4 separate regions of the Homo sapiens genome follow, and regions 2, 3 and 4 are each linked to region 1. Evidence: promoter capture Hi-C in 16 types of primary human blood cells and fetal thymus (Javierre and others, 2016). All regions are on one chromosome and are shown on one strand. Each heading gives the region's core, a stretch centred on a gene start or on the middle of the fragment in contact. The rest is flanking DNA. Distances are from core to core; before and after follow the strand shown.

Region 1 (3,420 bases), core at 53-2,552:
GCGAGGCGAGCGAACATGGCAGCAGAATGAGGAGGCTGGCGCCGGGTCGTGGCCGCCGCTGCCGCGCTGCAGCTCGGGATCCCAGTCCGGCGCGCTCCGGGCCGCATCCTTAGCCGGCCTCCTGGCGGCCGCGGGATTATTTCATTCCCAACGGAGAGCTAGGAAGAAAGGAGACTCCCCCGCGGAGCGGTTCCGTGCTCTGGCAGGGTGTAGACGTTTGTCTGTGCGATTCGCCGGCTGCGCAAACGACGCGGGAGAGAGCCGGTCCCGGGCTGCGGCGGCGCGGCCGCGGGGATGAGCCGGCCATGGAGCGGCCTTGGCGGGGCGCACGCAGCGGACTGGCGCTGCCGCGGGAGCGCAGCCTGAGCCGGGGCTCCAGGGGGCTTCGAAGCCTCCGGCGCCCTGGGGGGGTCCCTGCCGCCGACTCCGGGAAGGACGCGAGCCCCGCGTGGCGGACACTGCCGCAGTCACCGTTCTGAGGCGCCCCGAGCTTGCTCCGCCTGCAGCTCGGTGCGCTCTGGGCACCCGGGCGCCTTGCCCGGTGCACGGCGGCTGGCGCACCGCGGCTAGATTGGCTACAGGAGCGGGGTGCAGGACTGGCTAGAGGTGGGTGTGTGCGCGCGTTGGACTGGAGATCCGAGCAGAAGCAGAACCAGGCGGCTCTGAGCAGCCATGCTTCCCGGGGTGGGCGTGTTCGGCACCAGCCTCACGGCCCGTGTCATCATCCCGCTGCTGAAAGACGAGGGCTTCGCGGTGAAGGCGCTGTGGGGCCGCACGCAGGAAGAAGCGGAGGAGCTGGCCAAGGAGATGAGTGTCCCCTTCTACACTAGCCGCATTGATGAGGTGCTGCTGCATCAGGACGTGGACTTGGTGTGCATTAACCTGCCGCCGCCCCTCACCAGACAGATCGCTGTCAAAACCCTAGGTGAGCGACCCCTACCCCGCATCCTCCGTCCCACCCCCGCCCTTTAACCTTCTCTAGGTTCCTTCCCCCCTGCCTTTCCCTCTCCGCATCCCAGAAGCTTACCCTGCATCTACGCTGCCCCGGGGATCTGAGATCCCAGATCCGACTCAGAGCTCCCTCCTTCCTCGTCCCCGGCCTTCCCCACCTTTGCGCTTCCCTCCTGCCTCCTGGCACCACTTGGACGCGCTTCCCCACGTGTGTAGATTGCAGGCTGGAGAAGGCGTGTGTTCCGGGGATCCGAACTAGGAAGATCAGATGCCGATAATAGGGGATAGGGTGCTCCGCGAGAAGAGGAAAGTTACTCCTCAGCTGTGTGTGTAGTGTCCAAGTGTGTGTGTGTGGGGGGGGGGGATGGGGGGGTGGAGGAGGGTTGTGCGCGCGCGCGCCTGGGAGAGGCGAGTGCGCGCCCAGAAACGCCTGAATAAAAGGCCGCACACGTGTGTCGGGTTTTCTTGGGTGCGATAGAGGACCTGCCCTTCAGCAGCGGTGGCGCCCTGCTAGGGTCGTTTGTTTCTTTCTGCTGTGAGTTAGTTTAGCGTGAGATTGCAGATGTTACCATCGGCTGGAATTATTTCGTCTGCGCTGGAGGCAAGGACGGTGGGAGTGGTTGGATGGGGGTGATGATGTATTAGAATGTTTTCAGAGGCGTCATAGGTTAGTAAAGACTGATTTGGTAAAACCAGGGGGTTTTAACTTTTGACTGCAGCCTCCCGGGAAATGTCTTCTGCCCCAATTTGGAGTAATAGATTTTAAATTTTTAGGAGGATGGGCGCAGTAGCTCCAGAGGCATGGATGCTTTGCATGAGAAAAGGCCCTCCCTAATCGCCTTCAGGAATAGTTTCGGAAGGCACAGTGTTGACCCGTGGGCTGGAGATGAGTTCAGGGTGCCTCACCATCTGGTCCCTGCTCCCCTCAACTCCCAGGCAGTCTGAACAATCTCTGAGGACAGAGTAGCAGCCTCTCAGCCTATGCTCAGGGGAAAGAGAAGGGCATGTTTTGTTCATCATCAGTTCTTGCACGTAACCTAAAACAATCCCAGGAAGGTTGCTTGATCTTACAATTCCAAGAAAATGAGCAGCTCACCTTTGAAAGCTGAAGTTTCTATTGGTGAGGAAAAACACAAAGCTTATAACAAGAACAAAGCTTATAACCAGATGAAGCGAATAGTAGAACAGATTAGAAGGGAGGAGCTGCGAAGGAACAGAGACAACATCCAGAAACCAGCCGGAAGTTATGTAGTCTTGGAAAGACTGTTTTATTTGTTAAAAATAGGTATGGATTCAGGGTAGGTGAAATATACGTGTGTTTTAATTCTGTCTTCGAAGAGCTATGAACAGAATGTAAAACTCTTTCTCCATAGAAAGGCATTTTCATCAGGCCATTTGGCTATTGACTCAGATGCAACATCTGATAGAATTCCTAAGGAGGCTGCCCACATTGTCAGTTTTAATTGTCAGTTAATTTTATTAAGTGTCTGCCCTTTGTGGCCTGTTTCTTTGGCCTTGAACTGAATGCCATTGAACTGAATGCTAATATTTATTTTCTGTTTAATGGAACATGTATGTTGGGTGGATAACTCCCTTGTTTACATTGGCTCTTTGCATATCAAATATCTTATAACGATCTTATGGTATAATTCTATTAGTGCAATTTGTACAAAACTGGTCCCTGATGAGCCCTGCGTATACTGGAGAGCTTAGGACTGGTCATATCTGAAAGACCATGTTGTTAACATCGTTTCTCCACCATAAAGATGGCAGTTCCTGTCCTGGGTTCAGACCCACAGAGCAAACCTAGAGCAGGAGGGTGGCAATTTGGGGAACAAGGATGACCTTGTTTTCTGGCTGTCTCTGGGACCATGGCCATGAAAGTGTCTGGGGGCTCTGGTTTCAAGAGATGTGACACAAATTAGACATTTCTGGATACTTCTTCTGTTCTTATTTTTCAAATATCCCTGTGACTTTAATTAACAAGACATGTCTGTTACCTCTTCAAAACCAGCGATAAGAGGCATAATAGACCTAGTTTAGTAATGGTGATGACAGAATAGGGTTTTGTTCATGTTTTTAGGGTAGGTTTTGAGCTTCTTTCTTCTTTCTTTTTTTAACTCCTTCTTTTGCAGGGTGCCCCTGCGAGTGCACAGTGGGGTGGTCGTCTTGGTTTGCTTTACAGTCACTGTTGAAGGTTCAACACATAGAACGTAGGAAGTGAAAAACCCCAAACAGTTATCAGGCTGATCTGGCTGTTGGGAGTGTATAGATACGAGTGTTTGCCTGGAATTGAAACTAGCTACTTTGACTCATCCTGGTAAATTGTCCTTTTAGCAAAGGCCTGGACTTTGAATTGCTTGCCCAGTGAGGGTGACAGGTCTGTAGCCTTCGATCCACACTCATAACTGGTCACAGGCCTGTCAAAGTAAGGGGCTAGGGACCCTACTTTGTAGGGACCCTACAAAG
Region 2 (3,122 bases), core at 481-2,980, 310 kb before region 1:
GGGAGGCCAAGATGGGCAGATCACCTAAGGTCAGGAGTTCGAGGCAGCGTGCCTGCCCAACATGGTGAAACCCTGTCTGTACTAAAAATACAAAAAATAAGCCGGGCATGGTGGCGGGCACCTGTAATCCCAGCTACTCGGGAGGCTGAGGCAGGAGAATCGCTTGAACCCAGGAGGCAGAGGTTGCAGTGAGCTGAGATTGTGCCACTGCTCTCTAGCCTGGGTGACAAGAGCAAAACTCCATCTCAAAAAAAAAAAGAAAATTTCTATGTTGTCTTTTAAGTGCAGTGAGAAGTTGTGAGGGTATTTTGTTTTGTTTTCTATTTTTGTTTTTTTTGAGACAGAGTCTCAGTGTGTTGCCGAGGCCGGAGTGCAGTGGCACCGTGTCTGCCCACTGCAACCTCCGTCTCCTGGGTTTAAGCAATTCTCCTGCCTCAGCCTCCCGAGTAGCTGGGATTACAGACGCCACCACCACACCTGGCTAGTTTTTATATTTTTAGTAGAGACAGGGTTTCACCATGTTGGCCAGGCTGGTCTCAAACTCCTAACCTCAAGTGATCTGCCCACCTTGTCCTCCTAAAGTGCTGGGATCACTGGAGTGAGCCACTGCGCCTGGCCGGCAAGTGTGTTTTTTTTTTCTTTGTTTTTGTTTGAGGCGGAGTCTCGCTCTGTCACCCAGGCTGGAGTGCAGTGGTGTGATCTCAGCTCACTGCAAGCTTCGCCTCCCGGGTTCACGTCATTCTCCTGCCTCAGCCTCCAGAGTAGCTGGGACTACAGGCCCCTGCCACCACGCCCAGCTAATTTTTTGTATTTTTAGTAGAGACGGGGTTTCACCGTGTTAGCCAGGATGGTGTCGATCTCCTGACCTCGTGATCCGCCCACCTCGGCCTTCCAAAGTGCTGGGATTACTGGAGTGAGCCACCGCGCCCGGCCTAAGTGTGTTTTAATAAAGATATGTGTCGGGTTGCCTCTAGTGATTTTTAACCCTGTCTGAATATTCAGCCGTCTTCTTGCTCAGACTTTATTTGAATTTGGTAACATCAGGTGCCTTTTTTATTCTTAGCATAATGAGAAATAGGGCAGAGAGAGCATCTTGCACTAACACAAAACTGAATACACATGCAGAAACTGAGTACTCACAACTGTTTGTTGTTTTCTCATTTTTGACAATTTGCTTTTAGATAAAATGTGCTATAATGATAAGTGAAGCTAATACTGAAACTCAAAAAAGTAACCTACTTGTGTTTTGGAACTGCCACTGGATTTCAAGAGTTAATCCAAGCTTCGTTATACAAAATAATTATTAAGGCTGTGTTACCTGTCTTTCTAGTCTTACAACAACAGTCTCCACCCATAAAGATTAAATCACCTAGTGTTACTAAATAGTTACTGACTATAGCATGTCACTGGTGTCTGGAAGAGGAGAAACTCTTTTGGTTACCTTTATCTTTATGGGTTGTATACTCAGGAAGAACTGAATTCACTTGATATAGGAAAATGACTGTGTGTAGCTAACCAACCTGGGAAAAACTACATCAAGGACATCAGGAAATACAGGGCATGAATGTAGATTAAAGCCAGTGAATTTTTTTAAAATTTTATATGGAGTCATTTTAATAACATAACTAGGCTGATATATATGTACATTTTTCAATCATGTAACATTTAGATTTTACTCATTTTAAGTCATTAACATCATCCAGCAAACAAAAATTTTCCAGAAATTTTTTTCACAATTACAGTTTTAGTCTTTAAACCAAAATGAAAAAATTTCTGCCGGGCATGGTGGCTCACACCTGTAATCCCAGCACTTTGGGAGGTCAAGGTGGGTGGATCACCTGAGGTCAGGAGTTCGAGGCCAGCCTGGCCAACGTGGTGAAACCCTGTCTCTACCAAAAATACAAAAATTAGCCCAGCGTGATGGCCCACCTGTAGTCTCAGCTACTCGGGAGACTGAGGCAGAAGAATCATTTGAACCCAGGAGGCAGAGATTGCAGTGAGCCGAGATCACGCCACTGCACTCCAGCCTGGGTGACAGAGTGAGACCCTGTCTCAAAAAAAAAAAAAAGAAAAGAAAAAAAATGATGAAATTTCATTCTTGCAAATACTCATATTTTTAAATTATTGGATATATAGAGTGGATTCATTCAGTGTTCTTATAAGAAAAGTAAAGCTTATAATATTTTGCAGACTTGATAATGCAGCACTCAAAATACTTACCCTGATTTTATTTTACTTGAATTTACTAGTTAAATATGCTGATAAATATGATTTACATGTAATTACTTTATCTGGAATGACTATATTGACCTTAATCTCCAGAAAGCAACCAATGCACAGAGTTTCAATTAAATCCTGTCCATCATGATAGTAACTTTTTCTACATGACACAAAAGTGTCTGTGGTATATTTGAACAGTAACTGTGACTATGAATTGTTCTTATAGTCTTTTTTTAGTGTTTCATTATTTTAATTTCAGTGGGTTTTGGGGGAACAGGTGGTGTTTGGTTACATGAAGACGTTATTTAGAGGTGATTTCTGAGATTTTTGGTGCCCCCATCACCCTAGCAGCGTACACTGTACCCAATGTGTAGTCTTGCCCCTCACCCACCTCCTACCCTTTCCCCCAAGTCCTCAAAGTCCACTGTATCATCCTTTTGCCTTTGCATCATAGCTTAGCTCCCATCAAGCCAGTGAATTTATGTCATTTAGTAACCTAGCGGGGAGGTTGTTCTTGGTAATCATAAACTTGGATTACTCTGAAGCACAAGGCAGTAGTAAATTATACAGCGAGTGTGTTTGTAACATGCATTGGTGAAGATGAGTTTTCTGGCTCTCGTTCTTTCGGTAAAGTTATAATGTTAAATATTAAATTGCAAATTAACTATGATATTTACAGCCAGTTCCAAAAGCAGTATGGCATATAAACTTCTGGGGCATGGGGATATAGAGCTACATAGATGTTATTTTTAAAACCATGACAGCGTCAATATTTAGGCTCTTCTTTTGTGGGTGAGTCAATGTTGAGTTAATGAAGACTGAGGTTTAGTGGTGCACAAAATCTTGTTCCACGCCGCCCTCTAGTGGTGATCTGATGCATCGGGCTCTCCTGGTCTGAAACC
Region 3 (3,345 bases), core at 474-2,973, 300 kb after region 1:
TTCGTTCTGTGTTGTTTCCATTTTTTATTTTTTGTATGAGTTTTGACATCTTAAAAACCTTTCTGGCTGGGGAGACTGTCCCTCCTGGGGCTGACCAATTCTCAGAGTTAGCAAGGGCCAAGTCAGGAGCAGCCCTTTGATATGGAAACAAGCCAGTCCAGAGCCAGACTTCCTCTATCAGGCCTGTCCACCCCAGGATGCATTATTCCTCTGCCTTAATCATCCCATGGCCAGGTACCAGGCAACTATAGAACATTTGTATAGCTTAGAGCCTGCTGACACCATGCAAACTAGCCAGTCCTAAAGTGCTCTGTCTGCCCTGCTTTGCCTTTCTGCAGAAACCCCAATAAACACTCTGGCCTCGGCTTTCCCCTCTCCTTGCTTTCTGCCTCCTGACCACCCTGAGGCTTCCCCATGTGCCCTGTGTGGTGAGCCGTGCCTCCTGTCTCTAGGGCCCGTGAGTATAATAAACCTTATGGCTGCACTTGACCGACCATCTCACAAAGAACACAGAACACCTTCAAATTATCAGTTACCAAGAGAGACTTCTATGCAAACATTCATTTTTTTTCCATTTAAAGGCATAGATAAAGTCCAAGCTCACAGTGGTCTAATCTTTGGTTTTATTGCACTGGGATTACTGGGAGGGAAGGCAGGGACAGAGGCAGAAGTAGCCAGGTGGTTCTGGAGGGTTGGAGAGGAGGACATGGAGGGTTGGGAATGTGGGGATCAATGGGGGAGAGAGAGCATCAGAGAAAAACAGAGACACATAATGAAATTACGCAGCAGCATGTGACTGTAGAACAGTGAAAAAGTCCACAAAACTAGAGAGATAGCTATAACCAGGAATATTGGTCAAGCATGGAGAGAGGATTCTTGTTACACAGGTACACATGCTGGGGCTGAAAATAACACAGGTCATGGACACCATTTGTCAGGCAAAGTTGTAGTAGCGAATACTTTGGTAACATTGAAATGAGCAATCAACTAAGTTCTGAGAATATATTAAGTTTCCTTGTATTTTGAATTCTAACCACTGTGCAAATAAGTCCTGGGTAGGTGTGTATTATCAGTAGGACTTGTTTTCAAGGATAAGCCTCAGTTTCCTTTCTTTGCTGAAGTGTCAGTAATCTCTAACTGTGGTCAGATGCTTCCCATGTGGTTTACCCCTGCTCCTGACTCTTACACAAACTGTCTCCTTTGGGTCTGTTCTTTGAAACCCGACCCAACTGAACTCAGATCCTCCTCTTTATAACCAAGTGCCTTGAGTATATGACTAATTTTTGAAGAACTAGATAATTTTTGTCCTTGAGTCATGCTGTGGACTGAATTGTGTCCCCCCACCTCCTAAATTCATCTGTTGAAACTCTCACCCCCAATGTGACTGTATTTGGAGTAAGGAAGTAATCAAGGTCAAATGAGGCAATGAAGATGGAACCCTAATATGATAAGATTAATGTCCTTATAAGAAGAGACATCAAGCCGGGCTTGGTGGCTCACGCCTGTAATCCCAGCATTTTGGGAGGCTGAGGCGGGCAGATCACTTCAGGCCAGGAGTTCGAGACCAGCCTGGCCAATATGGTGAAACCCCACCTCTACTAAAAAAAAAAAAAAAATACAAAAATTAGCTGAGCATAGTGGCACAAGCCTGTAATTCCAGCTACTCGGGAGGCTGAGGCAGGAGAATCACTTGAACCCAGGAGGTGGAGGTTGCAGGGAGCCAAGATCATGCCACTGCACTCTAGCCTGGGCGACGGAGTAGAAACTGTTTTAAAAAAAAAAAAAAAAAAAGCAGAAGAGATATCAGAGATCTCTTTCTCTCTCCCTGTTATGTGAGAACATAGAGAGAAGGGAGCTGTCTACAAGCCAGCAAAAGATATGTCACTAGAAACCGAACCCTACGGACCTTGATCTTGGACTTTCCAGCCTCCAGAACTAAGAGAAATACATTTCTGTTGTGTAAACTACCCAATCTACATTCTTTAGTTGCGGCAGCCCAAGCAGAATAACACAACTTTTAAAAACAAAGGGGCCGATTTTCAAACTTCTTAAGCAGATGAAAACATACAATGCTAAAACACAAAGAAAGCTGATTTTTTTAAAGATTTGGGAATAGGCCGGGCAAGGTGGCTCATTCCTGTAATCCCAGCACTTTGGGAGGCAGAGATGGGTGGATCACTTGAGCTCAGGAGGTCCAGACCAGCCTGGGCAACTTTGTGAAATTCCTTCTCTACAAAAAAATACAAAAGTTAGCCAGGCGTGGTGGCATGTGCCTGTAGTTCCAGCTACTCAGGAGGCTGAGATAGGAGGATCACTTGTGCCTGGGAGGTGGAGGCTGCAGTGAGCCGTGATTGTGCTACTGCACTCTAGCCTGGAAGATACAGTGAGATCCTGTCTCAAAAAAAGAAAAAAAAAAGGGGGGGTGGGAATTTTGGTGGAGATACTATAAACAAATGGTTATAAATGAGGATTCTGGAGTCAAAAAAAATAGGTTCATGCTTATCTGCCACTTACTAGCTAAGTAACTACGACCAAGTCCTTTAATTTCTCCAAATTTCATGCTCATCTGTGAAAAGAGGTAATAATGATAACAATATCAAAGAGTATGTGGTAAAGTTCTCAAAAAAGGCTGACATTATTATTACCCAAATGTGAACATCTGACTGTGAAGTCCAGCTAAATTGATTTATCCTTCATTCAACTGGCATGCCGGGGGCACCTGCCACAGGTACCTTATGCAGAAGGCATAGGTTATTCATGCAGCGTTGAACATCTGACTTCTGGAGCCAGAATGCCACAGAGAAGTGACTGATGATGACTTAGAGAGGCAGGAGACAGTGGCTTTTGCCTTCATCACCCTTTTGGGGTCACCCATCACTCCAAGGATTCCAAGAAGGATGCATTTCACTTCAGATCACATTCATTACACAACAAGCTCTGTCGGACACTGTACTTCTGGAAACAAAGGAAACTGATGCCAACAACTCCTGGCCCTGTATCGCATGCTGTTGCATGGTTGATGTTGGAGGAGGTGAGATGGAAGGAGATTTTAACAAGAAATGAAGCAAGACAGACAGGGAGAATGAGAGAACTTCTCCCCACCTGGCTGATGAACAGAAGAAATTTGTAAGACAAATACTCTCCAAATTAATTACATTTTCCTGATAAAGTGGAAGCAAACGCCACGGTAGAGGTATTTCTGCATGACTTTCCCTGACTGTGAATTTGGTAGTAGTTCCAGTTCAGCCTCACATTTCCTCCAGCATTCTACCAGACCATTAGCCACTGTCACTCCCCATTAATCACGCTTGGTGTCTTTCAATTGTCCTGTGTTTCCTTTCAAAC
Region 4 (3,282 bases), core at 568-3,067, 320 kb after region 1:
GATTTATTAGTATTTGCTGCCTCTGACTGCACCTCATGGTCAATAAACCATGGCTCATGTGGAGTCTGGGCTGCTTCCCCTGCCTTCAGCCTCCTGGTAACCTGAGCGCCTCATTACATGGAATTGTGTGGTGCCTGTCTCCCGGGTATGGTTATACCTCCCCAGCAGTCTGCACGCCAAGTGCATGGTTTCTCAGATGATGTATCCTCATGAACTATCAGGGCTCTGACCACTATTTCCAAACAATGACTCTGGCTCCAAGGTTTGTAGCTGAAAGAGGAGTTACCATCTTGCTATTTCTGGGCATTTTGATATAAAAAATGCAACTGGGGCAGAGATTGAATATAAATGAACAGAATGTCACAGTTTCTCTCCTATGGAATCTGATAGTCTGAATCTCACAGAATCAGTCATTGTGAAAGGGGCCTCTTTCATCATTAATAGGGTAGCCCAACTGAGCCTAGCATCCAAGATTTTAGAAAAGGCTAGAGTTGACCGGGCGTGGTGGCTCACACCTGTAATCCTAGCATTTTGGGAGGCCAAGGTGAGCGGATCACCTGAGGTCAGGAGTTCAAGACCAGCCTGGCCAACACGGTGAAAACCCGTCTCTACAAAAAATACAAAAAATTAGCCGGGCATGGTGGCGCATGCCTGTAATCCCAGCTACTTGGGAGCTGAGGCAGGAGAATCACTTGAACCCCGGAGGCAGAGGTTGCAGTGAGCCGAGATTGCGCCATTGCATTACAGCCTGGGCAACAAGAGTGAAACTCCATCTAAAAAAAAAAATTGGCTAGAGCTGGGGGAGGGAAGTTATAGGGGATGGCCATTTCAAAATTTGCACAGCTCTGTTTCTCTAGCTGGGCTCTCAAATAGGGCATTCATTAGACACATGTAGTGGTGTTCAAGTTCGTTAAAATTGAACAAAATTCACAAAGCAGTTCCTCAATCAGAGTAACCACATTTTAAGTGCTCCACCACCACACGTAGCTAGAGGATACTGCATTGGCCGATGCAGATGACAGAATATTTCTGTTACTGTTGAAAGTTCTACTGGACAGCACCGCTCAAGGTAGACTTGAAAATCACAACCATGGGCCTTACATGTATGCAAAAGTCAATCCATTTCTGGAACAGAGAGGTTAAAATGATGCTGCTACACTGATCTCCACCATAATGAGTGTCTGGCTCAGTGTACTGTAGTCCTATTAGAGAAACTGCAGTTGTGGGAAACCTGGAGTGCTGGGATGGGGGATGAGCTCCAGGGCACACATGGACAGTGGGAGCCCTGAGAGCAGTGAGACAGAACTACAGAGGCACACATGGCCCTTGGAGGAGTCCTGAGCCTTCAGTGGATCTCGGCTCTACTTGGGCGGAAGTGGGGTGGGGTGGGGTGGGGACTGTGAAGAGGACTTGAGAAAAGCATGAAAGGAGAGCAGAAGAGCAGGGAGAACAGGTGGCTGGTGGAGACCATAGCTAACCTTGATCGAGTACCTGCTCTAAGCAGGTGATGACCTAACTTCCCACATTGGATTACGTCCTTTAAGCCCAAACGGGATTATGTCCTTTATGAGATGACAGGCAAGGGCCAGAATGGAGTTGAAGAGTTCATCATTCCATGGGAGGATGGAATGATTCCCAGAGACTCTAGGAGGATCACCCGGTTGGTAACAGACTGCCTTCAATCAAGCAGGCTTGGGCCTGGGAACAGTGAGAAGGGATCAAATGAAAGCATGGCCTTGCTGGCGGCAGCAGTCTAGGGTCCTGGGGTTATATTCAATCAGAAACCAGAGTCTAGAGAGATGAAAAGATGCCCTGTATCTTCCACAGACAGAACACGATGGAGCCAGAACTGGAAACCCTGGCTCAGGACTCCTGCAAGAGTACTGTTCTTTTAGACATTATGAATTGGGTGGCGTGCCCCATTGACTTGTCTAACTTTACACAAGTCTTGGGCAAAAGTATGAAATCTGGAACATTTTTCTAAGCTATTTCCAGCTTTTCCTTCATCAGCTACTAGACTCCCAAAGTTTGGCTGGCTTTCCAGTTATAAAGGTCAATGCATGTCAGTGGCTGGGGAGTAATAGAGCATTGGAAGGCCGGGGACATGTGGATGAGGCATTGATGCCCACTATGCCCCACGTACCCTGCCCTGCCATGAGTTCACAGGAGGGGTCCAGGTAAGCAGTTAGAAAGGGTGGTTTCATGGTGGATATTCCAATATGAATTTACATCATGCAGCAGCACTCAGGCAGGTGACTGTACTTGCAATACTTAAATTTATGGAAACATTTGTCAAAATTAGAGGAAAATATCTGATGGTTATCTGCGCAAATTTTCATCTATGAGACATGAGGGTAATCCTGAAAAACCTTTGGTGCAAAATTTTCTTGCTGTCATCAAGATACCAAGAAGATATAGCCTTCGTTTGTTCCCTGTACACTGTGGTATACGCATGTGATGTAGGAATTGCTGCAGCCATCTTGTCACCATGAGGAGTTACAGCCAGAGGATGGCATCCATTAGCCATGGTACACAGCTGATGAATGAACCAGCCCTGGAGCTGCCCTACAATTGGACTTTATTATGTGAGTTTCATTCTTTCACGCAATAAATATGAAATGAGCACCAACAAACTCTAAGATTGTTTGAGGCATTTGGGATACCTTAGAGGACAAACATACAAAAATTATTAGCCTGCAGACTTTCTAAATTTGCTTATTGTTTCAGTCTCTTTAACCTTTTTATTACCTGCATCTAGAGCATCTTAACTTACACCCTGCTGCCTGCATACTGGCTTCACAGGTAACTGAAGAATCTATATAATAGCATAAATGTAATCAAAAGGGCACTTTTATTCCTGATCTTTTTCTCATTCCTTGTCTTATTTGATGTGTCTGCATTTGACAGTGTGGGCCACTTTGTCCCCAGCTGAGCAACAGTCTCTTGTGTTGGCTTCCATAATGCTACACATTTTTGGTTGACCTCCTATTTTTTGACCACTTCTTAGTTTTTGAGGGTCCTTCTTACTCCTAGGTCATTTTTTTACTCCCCAAACATTAAATGTTGGGGTTCCATGGAGTTTTCTATCAGGGCCACCTTATTTTCCTACTCTACATTCTCTCTGAGAAATACCATCAATTTACATGACTACAGGATGTATACACTGACCAGTCCAAACCATCTCCAGCCCAGCCCAGCCCAGATCTCCCTTGAGTTTCATGTCTGTATACTTAGAGGTCTACTTAGATATTTGGATATCTGAGACTCAATGGGGACAAATCA

What was found. Contacts are between HindIII fragments. The CHiCAGO score rates a contact against its expected background, and 5 or more counts as called.
Region 2: a fragment that was not itself captured here is called in contact with the fragment with the promoter of GFOD1-AS1 in region 1 in 1 of 17 cell types (naive CD4 T cells); the score reaches 5.4 in naive CD4 T cells.
Region 3: a contact is called between a fragment that was not itself captured here and the fragment with the promoter of GFOD1-AS1 in region 1, in 2 of 17 cell types (neutrophils and total B cells). The highest score is 8.3, in neutrophils.
Region 4: a contact is called between a fragment that was not itself captured here and the fragment with the promoter of GFOD1-AS1 in region 1, in 1 of 17 cell types (monocytes). The highest score is 5.1, in monocytes.

What each region holds. Positions count from the first base shown.
Region 1 is chr6:13,484,143-13,487,562 of GRCh38, reverse strand. GFOD1-AS1 (GFOD1 antisense RNA 1) reads right to left here and starts at 1,302. Exons shown (of 2, transcript NR_046709.1): 1 at 1,110-1,302; 2 at 792-882. It overlaps GFOD1 (Gfo/Idh/MocA-like oxidoreductase domain containing 1), which reads left to right. Exons shown (of 2, transcript NM_018988.4): 1 at 1-925. The coding sequence starts at 673. RefSeq lists silencers at 1-471, 612-775 and enhancers at 602-711, 3,347-3,416. The HindIII fragment of the contact is 1,067 bases long and covers 1,025-2,091 here.
Region 2 is chr6:13,795,238-13,798,359 of GRCh38, reverse strand. All of the region lies in intron 6 of MCUR1 (mitochondrial calcium uniporter regulator 1), which reads left to right. Among named protein-coding and RNA genes, the nearest start is that of MCUR1, 18 kb to the left of the region's middle. The HindIII fragment of the contact is 891 bases long and covers 1,285-2,175 here.
Region 3 is chr6:13,188,470-13,191,814 of GRCh38, reverse strand. All of the region lies in intron 7 of PHACTR1 (phosphatase and actin regulator 1), which reads right to left. Among named protein-coding and RNA genes, the nearest start is that of TBC1D7, 140 kb to the left of the region's middle. The HindIII fragment of the contact is 5,237 bases long and covers 1-3,345 here.
Region 4 is chr6:13,169,278-13,172,559 of GRCh38, reverse strand. All of the region lies in intron 6 of PHACTR1 (phosphatase and actin regulator 1), which reads right to left. Among named protein-coding and RNA genes, the nearest start is that of TBC1D7, 160 kb to the left of the region's middle. The HindIII fragment of the contact is 5,861 bases long and covers 1-3,282 here.